Regions from separate parts of the Homo sapiens genome. Here regions 1 and 2 are each linked to region 3. Evidence: promoter capture Hi-C in human tissues and cell types (Jung and others, 2019). All regions are on one chromosome and are shown on one strand. The core of a region is centred on a gene start or on the middle of the fragment in contact, and the rest is flanking DNA. Distances in the headings are between cores, read along the strand shown.

Region 1 (2,883 bases), core at 304-2,803, 220 kb after region 3:
CCCTCCACTTCCAATCCCCCAGGAGTAACTAGTAGTAACATTTTCCAAATATACATATCTATATTGATAAATATGTGACCTTATTTTACATATTCTTATGAGGTGACTGTTCAGGTCTCTTGCCCATTTTTATATTCAGCTGTCTTTTTCTTATTGGTATGTAGTTCTTTCTATATTCTGGATAGGAATACTTTGTCAGTAATATTGGACTGCAAATCTCTTCTCCAACTGTGCAGTTTGCCTTTTTACTCTGTCAATGGTGTCTTTTGATTAAGAGAAACTCTCAGTGTTAACATAATCAAATGTATTATCCTTTCCTTTATGATCAATGCTATGGTCTATGTAATAAGCACTTCTCTTCCCAGAGTTCATGAAAATCTTCTGTTATGTTATCTTCTCTAACCCTTGTTGCTTTGCCTTTTGCAGCTAGAGCTACCATATATCTGGATTTTGTTTTTGTATATTAAGTTTTCTTTGTGTCCACCATCTGTTGATCAACCATCCTATTACATTTGTTGAAAGGACCATTCTTCCCCTACCATCATTAGGCAGTGCCCTCTCTGTTCTATTTGTCTGTCTTTCTACACTATTTGCTGTCGCTTTATTGTAAATCTTATAACTTTATTGTAAATCTTGATGCCTCTGGTGGACCAAAATCTTCCCACCTTATTATTCTTTTTAAAGAATATTTTGCCTAACTTTGGTCCTATGCATCTCTATACAAGCTTTAGAATCAGCTTGATGGACTGCAATCAAAATACTTGCCAGAATTTGATTAGGATTACATTGAAGCAAATTGGTTTCAGAAAAATTAACATATTTTAAATATTGAGTCTTTTAATCCATGAACATGTTTGTCTGTTTCTCTTTAATCTATCACAATAATGTCTCATAGTTTTCTGCATAGAAGTCATGTACATCTTTTGTTAGATTGTTACCTAGGTATTTGCTGTCTTTTGATGCTATTAAAATGCATTTTTATTTTGCTCTTGCTTGTTATTTTTGTATTGTTGGTCTATAGAGTTGCAAATGATTTTTATGTGTTGGCTTTGTAACCAGCAACCTTGTTAAACTCTCTTATTCATTTTAACAATTTATGCCAGGCACAGTGGCTCATGCCTGTAATCTCAGCACTTTGGGAGGCCAAGGTGGGAGGACTGCTTGAGCCCAGGAGTTCCAGACTGGCCTGAACAACATAGTGAGACTCAGTCTCTACAAAAAAAAAAAAAAAAAAAAATTAAGTTAGCCAAGCCTGGTGGCACACGGCTGTGGTTCCAGCTACTTTGGAGGCTGAGACGAGAAGATCACTTGAGCCAAGGAGGTCGAGGTTGCAGTGAGCTATGATCGTGCCACTGTGCTCCAGCCTGTGTGACACAGCAAGACTCTCTGTCTCAAGAAAAAAAAGAAATACTAGATTTTTCACCTGGTTAGATGATTAAAAAACAAAGAAGAAAGAAAAAGAAAATGTAAAAAGAAAAAATTATTAGACATTTTTATATTTTCAATGAACATATATCAGCTACATAATGAGAGTATTATGCCTTTTGTTTCTTTTCCTGGCCTTAGTCACATTGTTGAAAACCTCAGTGCAGCGTTAAGTAGAAGTGGAGATAGTGGGAAACTTGACAAAAGTGTGTATAATATTTATTATGTACGGTATGATATTTACTAGAAACTTCCTGTATCTATCTTAAATAGACTGAGGACATTTTCTTTTATTCCCAGGTGGCTAACAGTCTTTTTGTCATGAATGGATGTTGAATTTTATCAAATGCTTTTCCCACAGCTACTCAGATGGTCATATGATTTTTCTTTTCTATTCTTTTACATGACCATTTAAATTTATTTTTAGCATATTAAGTTAATCTTACATCCCTGTGTTAAAGTCCACTTAATCGTAGTGTGTTATCTTTTTTAATTTAACACTGAATTTATTTTATTTAGGATTTTCACACCTGTGAATGTGTGAGTGTATGTGAGACTGGCCTGTAAATTTCCTTTTTCATGATGTCCTTGTCTGATTGATAGCAAGGTTACCCTGCTCTCATAAAACAAGTTCCCTCTTTTTCTAGTCTCTGAGAGAGGTCTTTTCTTTTTTGTAAAATGAACTCTTTTTTTCTCCCTTAAATGTTTGTTACAATTAATCAGAGAAGACATTGGAACCTACAGCTTTCATGTGGGAAGTTTTTAATTATATACTCAATGTATTTAATAGATATGGAACTATTCTGATCTGTTACTTTAATTTTAGCTTAATTAGTTATATATTTTAGGAGTTTTTTCTTTTCATCTAAATTTTCAAAGACCCAACATCTGGCTTTGTTGATCCTCTCTGTTCTTGTTTTCAAATAATTTGTGCTTTATTTTATTTTTTCTTTTCTTTTCTTTTTTTTTTTTTTTTTTTTTCTTGCTAGAGACAGGGTCTTGCTCCATTGCCCAGGCTGGAGTGCAGTATCAGAATCTCAGCTCAGTGCAGCTTTGACATCCTGGGCTCAAGAAATCCTCCCACCCCAGCCTCCAGAGTAGCTGGGACTGGGACTACAAATGCATACCACCTTGTCCAGCTAATTGTTATTTACTTTCTTCTACTTTATTTGGAATTAATTTACTGGATATTTTTCTTCCTTTTTTTTTTTTTTTTTTTTTTTCGAGACAGCCTAGGCTGTCGTCTAGGCTGCTGGAGTACAGTGGCACAATGACAGCTCACTGCTGACTTGACCTCCCTGGGCTCAGGTGATCCTCCCACCTCAGCCTCCTGAGTAGCTAGGACCACAGGCATGCACCACCATGCCCAACTAATTTTGTATTTTTTGTAGAGATGGTGGTGTGGTTTGGCCGTGTCCCCACCCAAATCTCATCTTGAATTGTAGTTCCCATGATCCC
Region 2 (2,886 bases), core at 1-2,500, 250 kb after region 3:
TCTCTAGCTATGAAAGCCCTCTTTCTATGAACCAACCTCTGGTGGCTTTCAACTTTTCTTCTGCATCTCCCTCACCTCTCTCAGCCTTCACAGAATTGAAGAGAGTGAGGGCCATGCTCTGGATGAGGCTTTGGCTTAAGGGAATGTTGTGTTTGGTTTGATCTATCCAGACTCCAACTCCCTCCATAGCAGCAGTGAGGGTGTTTCACTTTCTCATCATCCATGTGTTCACCGGAGTAGCACATTTAAATTTCCTTCAAGAACTATTCCTTTGTGTTCACAACTTGGCTGTCTGTCGCAAGAGACCTAGCTTTTGGCCTATCTTGGCTTAAGGAGGCCTGAGGAGTTGGAGAGAGATGGGGGAGCGGCCGGTCTGAGGAGCACTCAGAACACACAACGTTTATCCATTAAGTTCACTATCTCAGAAGAACACGGTTTGTGGTCCCCCAAAACAGTGATGATGGTAACATCACAGATCATCGTAACAGATATAATTCTAATGAAAAAGTTGGAAATACTGTAAGAATTAGCAAAACGTGACAAGACAGACATGAAGTGAGCACATGTTGTTGGGGAAAAAATGATAGATTTGCTCACAGACCTTGAATTTGTTTAAACATTAAAACAATATCTGCAAGATGCAATTAAGTGAAATGCAATCAAATGAGGTTTGCCTGTATTTCTAAAATGACTTAAACGTTGAAAATGTAAAGGGTCCTTTGGACCCACAGAGCCAGTGGTGACGCTGAGGGGGAAGCAATTGCTGTCGATGCTGTAAGGTGTAACAGGGGCCCTTTAGTTACTTAAGAAAATGACCTTGGCCAGGCGTGGTGGCTCATGCCTGTAATCCTAGCACTTTGGGAGGCTGAGGCAGGAAGATCCCTGGAGTCCAGGAGTATGAGACCAGCTTGGGCAACATAGGGAGGCCCTGTCTCTTAAAAAGAAAGAGAGGAAAGAAGGAAGGAAGGAAGGAAAGGAGGGAGGGAGGGAGAGAGAGAGAGAAGGAAAGAAAGAAAGAAAGAAAGAGAGAGAGAGAGAGAAAGAAAGAAAGAAAGAAAGAAAGAAAGAAAGAAAGAAAGAAAGAAAGAAAGAAAGGGAAAATGACCTTCTTTGGGCTGGGCGTGGTGGCTCATGCCTGTAATCTCAGGACTTTGGAAGGCCGAGGTGGGAGGATTGTTTGACCTCAGGAGTTTGAAACCAGCCTGGGCAACATAGCAAAACCTTGTCTCTACTAATAATACAAAAATTAGCGAAGCACAGTGGCAAGTGCCTGTAGTCGCAGCTACACAAGAGGCTGAGGTGGAAGGATCACTTAAGACTGGGAGGTAGAGGCTGCAATGAGCCATGATCATGCCACCATGCTCCAGCCTCAGTGACAGAGTAAGATCCTCTCTTGAAAGAAAAAGAGAGAGAGAAAGAAAGAGGAAGGGAGGAAGGGAGGGAGGAAGGGAGGGAGGGAAGGAGGGAGGGAAGGAGGGAAGGAAGGAAGGAAGGAGAGAGAGAGAGAGAGAAAGAAAGAAAGAAGAAAGAGAGAGAAAGAAAGAAGAGAGAGAGAAAGAACAGAAAGAAAAGAGAAAGAAAGAAAGAAGAAAGAAAGAAAAAAGAAAGAAGAAAGAAAAAAGAGAGAAAGAGGAAGGGAGGGAGGAAGGGAAGGAAGGAAAGAAGGAAGGAAGGAAAGAAGGAAGGAAGGAAAGAAGGAAGGAAGGAAGGAAGGAAGGAAGGAAGGAAGGAAGGAAGGAAGGAGGGAAGGAAAATAAATGACCAGGATGCTTTGTTGAGATGCTGGGCAAAGCGAGGGTGGCTGGCAAGGCCGAGTGGTTGCCGTGAGTGCTGCTGTTTGCTCTGCTCCTGTGAATGTCGGACCTCTCCATAATACTTTTCTTCAGAAACGAGAACAGGAGAATGCTTCAGCAATGCAGCTGTCACTCTGCACAACTGGGAGTGCAAATGACATGCCCTAGTCAGGCCCTGGCATGGAACGTGTCCACCTCCACACTGGGAATAGCAGAAGCCCCACCGGCCGGTCTATCCTGGCTGCCCCAGAGCCTGAGACCCAGTCCTAGCCCAGCAGGTGGTCCAGAGGGAGAGGAGCTCAGGCCCCCAGGGAGGCTCCAAGGCGGGTCTTATCAACACCACTCAGTCAACCGGCCTTGAGAAGGTCAGTCTGAGGGTAGATGGAATCCCAGCTCCTGTCCATCAAGGCACAGGCCTTGATCTTAGGACAACTACTGGTGGGGGGCTGTTCCCTCCCCAGCACAGCAGCTGACAAATGGGGATCCCAGCAAAAACTGCCAGAATCCCTGAAGTTAAAGCTCCATCAGTGCCATGTTTTTGGGTACCTCCTTCCCCAGGCAATGGCAGCAGAAAAGTTTGTGAGAAACCAAGGCTGGCAGGTGCCCAAGAAGGCCAAGAGTGGATGCCATAGGAAGGCTGGGGAAGCCATGGAAGGCACTGCCTTCTCTGCCAGGCCACCACAGTGGTCCCCAGGGCCAGGCTTGATGACAGGCCCCTACATGCCCTTACCCAGCTCCAGCCAGGGTGCCGGGGGGTCAGGCAACCCATCCAGGCCGGTCTCCTTCACAGCTCTGCCCAGAGTCTCTCCAAGATGTGCAGCTGCTTTCTAAGCTGAAACGTCTCCTGGTCCAGTGGGGCCCACTAGCACAACCAGCTCGTCCTGGTTTTAGCAGCGAAAGCCCTGTGTGCTCATCCTGGGGCCTGCTTGCCCATCATTTAAATAACCAAGGAAGGCTGGGTGTGGTGGCTCACGCCTGTAATCCCAGCACTTTGGGAGGCCAAGGTGGGCGGGTCACTTGAGGTCAGGAGTTTGAGACCAGCCTGGGCAACATGGTGAAACCCCATCTCTACTAAAAATACAAAAATTAGCCT
Region 3 (2,700 bases), core at 120-2,619:
GAAGGCATGCAAAATTCAGATGAGAAAGTTTCTAAGTGATAGCTCCAGCTACCCCTCCAAATATCACAAAGGTCTAGCAGAATTGGAATTAAAAAAAAAAAGTCCTCTTGCACGGTTTATTTAAAATAAAGCCTTAACCTTAAAATTCCCTTGAAGGTGTTACAGCAAAGTAGGTATTCAGGCTCTGACCAACAAGGGGATGTAGACAGGCTGTCACCCAGGAGGGGCCGTTAGAGCTGGGCTCCCTGGGGATGCAAGGGGGTCCCACGGGGCAGTGGGCGAGGCAGATGCAGAAAGCACACCCAGCTGCCCCCACAACGCAGAGAAGCGTGGGGTGGGGAAAGGGAACTAATTCCACACTGCCTCCGGACCCCAAAGGCGAGGTGCGGGGGCGGGGGCGGGGGCGGGGGCGGATATCCCAGTGAGTGCTGCAGGAAATGATATCCAGACTCGGAGGGTGGATCTAGGAAGCCGCCAGGGCGAGGGCCCGGCGGGGGGGAGGGGGTGGGAGTGGGAACGTAGGATGTGGCTCCAAGGGGCAGGATGAGGGGGCGGGACGATCGAACGCGGATGTCGAGCCTAGGGAGGGCAAGGAGGGATGAAAAGCTAGCGGAGGGACGAGGGTGCAAGGAGCGGCTGGAGAGAGATGGGCTGCGGGCCTGGGGGCGCTGCCAGAGCGAGAGGAGGCGAAGCCCACGAGCTGGGTGGGCAGGAGGGCGGCAGGGTCTGTCCGGGCGGGGATGGGCGGGCGTGGGGATGCGCGGGCTGGGGCGCGGGGGTCGCAGAGCCGCAGGTCCGGCCCTGCCGGCGCGCACTTACCCCACTCGAGGAACTCGGCCACGTACTTGTCGCGGCGCAGGGCCGAGTGGCTGCACTCGGTGTACAGGCAGACGAGCACGTCGAGCAGCGTTTCCACGCTCAGGGCGCTCTCGTTGCGCCAGGGCCCGTCCAGGAGCAGCTGCTCCAGCTTCTTGAGCCGCACCTTGGCCGACATGGTGCCGCGCGGCCCGCTCCCGACGCGCCGGCCTCTCACCGCCGGCTCGGCCAGTCCGTCAGGGCGCGCCCTCGGGGGCTCGGCGGCTGCGAGCCCCGGCAGCAGCGGCGCCTCCTCGCCGCCCCGTCCGCGTCGTCGCGCCCCGGCCTAGGCCGACATCTTGGGCTCCGTCCCGACGGCGCAGAGTCTGGGGCGCCGGGCCCCGCGGGTCCATGGGCCGCTCTCCTCCCCTCGGCGCCGCCGCCCTCCCAGCTCGGGCGGCCCGCCCCCGCCGCCCTCAGCCCCGCCCGCGGCCGCGCCCTCCCCGCCGCCGCCGCCGCAGACTAGGAGCGGCGAGGAGCCTAGCGCTGCGCAAGCCCGGCCGGCGCCCGAGCCCGACCCCAGCCCCGACCCGGCGGCCCAGCCCCGCGGCCCGCAGCCAACCAGGGCGCGGCCAGCACCAGCGCAGCCAACCACTACGGGGCCGGCCGCCGCCGCGCTGACCTCAGCGCGCCGCCCCGCCCCGCGCCCGGCTCCCTGCTCCCGGCGGGCTCGGGCCTCGCCGCTTGCCGTAGGGAGCCGGGATGCTGGGAAGGCAGGGCCGGGCCTGGGGAGCGGCGCGGGGTGGGGGTGGGGGGGGCGGGGCGGGGCGAGTGGGCCGCTGAGATTGCGGAGCCCGCGCATGCGCAGAGCGCGCCTGGTGGGCGTGTGCGCCTTCGCCCTGCGGACCCGGTGCCTTCAGTATTCGGGGTCCGACCGCGCGCGTCGCGGATCCCGGGGCCGAAGACGACCCCAAGTATCGGAGAGGCAGAGTCGCGATCTCAGGCCGTCGAGCCCCGTCCCGCAGTCCGCGGGCCCATGTTGCCTGCGGGGCCTCGGACCTGCCCGGCCGAGGTGGGGGTCGAGGGCGGCCCGGCAGGCGCAGCTCTGATGGCCTCGGCGGGTTGTGGGCTATTTAAAACGGCTTGTCCCAGCTCGAAGCGGTCCTGGAAGACTCGGGCCCTACCCCTGACTTTACCGATGAGAGACTGAGGCCCAGACGGTGTGGGGTCAGGGCCCAGGCTTCTGGGGGATGCTGCCAAGGCGGGAGCCAGCGTCCCCAGTGCCCGGTGGATTCGTGATGGCTTGCAGAGGGTTTCAGTTTCCACTGTCCAGCCCTCCCTGCAGACCAATGCCTAGGTGTGACAGTTTGGTAGGAAAGGGGCCGGATATTTGTCTCCAGGCTGGGTTTGCCTAGCGAGTCGCTGCATTTACTAAGATTGTTGGTTAATTTGGGTGGCTGGGGGAGGGAGGCTGATGGAGATACCCCCCAACCCCAACAAACCCTTGGCGTCAGGAGAGGAGGGGCTTTTCCTGGAGCTTGCGGAAGGTCACCGAAATCGTGGGGGTATCTGAGAGCTTCTGGGGCGCGCGGGTGCAGGGGAAGGGGTCATGCTTCCGTGGAAGCGGTGGCCTCCAGGTGGAGCCGATGAAGGGGCAGATAGGGGTTTGAAGCAGGACGTTAAGGGAGCCTGAAGCAAAACTAATCTCTGGAGCTAAAAATAGGAGTGGGCCTGGCGCGGTGGCTCACACCTGTAATCCCAGCACTTTAGGAGGCCGAGGTGGGCGGATTGCCTGAGCTCAGGACTTCGAGACCAGCCTGGGCAACACGGTGAAACCCCGTCTCTACTAAAATACAAAAAACTAGCCGGGCGTGGTGGCGCGCGCCTGTAGTCCCAGCTACTCGA

The links. The method cuts DNA at HindIII sites, captures the fragments that hold promoters and counts their contacts. A contact is called where the count stands out against the background at its distance.
Region 1: a contact is called between a fragment that was not itself captured here and the fragment with the promoter of CDC42BPB in region 3, in 1 of the 25 tissues and cell types used here (lymphoblastoid cells).
Region 2: a fragment that was not itself captured here is called in contact with the fragment with the promoter of CDC42BPB in region 3 in 1 of the 25 tissues and cell types used here (dorsolateral prefrontal cortex).

The regions. Positions count from the first base shown.
Region 1 is chr14:103,275,083-103,277,965 of GRCh38, forward strand. No RefSeq gene overlaps it. Among named protein-coding and RNA genes, the nearest start is that of EIF5, 58 kb to the right of the region's middle. The HindIII fragment of the contact is 6,253 bases long and covers 1-2,883 here.
Region 2 is chr14:103,307,311-103,310,196 of GRCh38, forward strand. The region is part of intron 1 of LOC105370686 (a long non-coding RNA gene); the gene reads right to left. Among named protein-coding and RNA genes, the nearest start is that of EIF5, 25 kb to the right of the region's middle. The HindIII fragment of the contact is 5,149 bases long and covers 1-2,886 here.
Region 3 is chr14:103,056,180-103,058,879 of GRCh38, forward strand. It overlaps CDC42BPB (CDC42 binding protein kinase beta), which reads right to left and starts at 1,370. Exons shown (of 37, transcript NM_006035.4): 1 at 820-1,370. The coding sequence starts at 994. RefSeq lists silencers at 1,042-1,121, 1,212-1,711, 1,752-1,861 and an enhancer at 1,857-2,507. The HindIII fragment of the contact is 24,533 bases long and covers 1-2,700 here.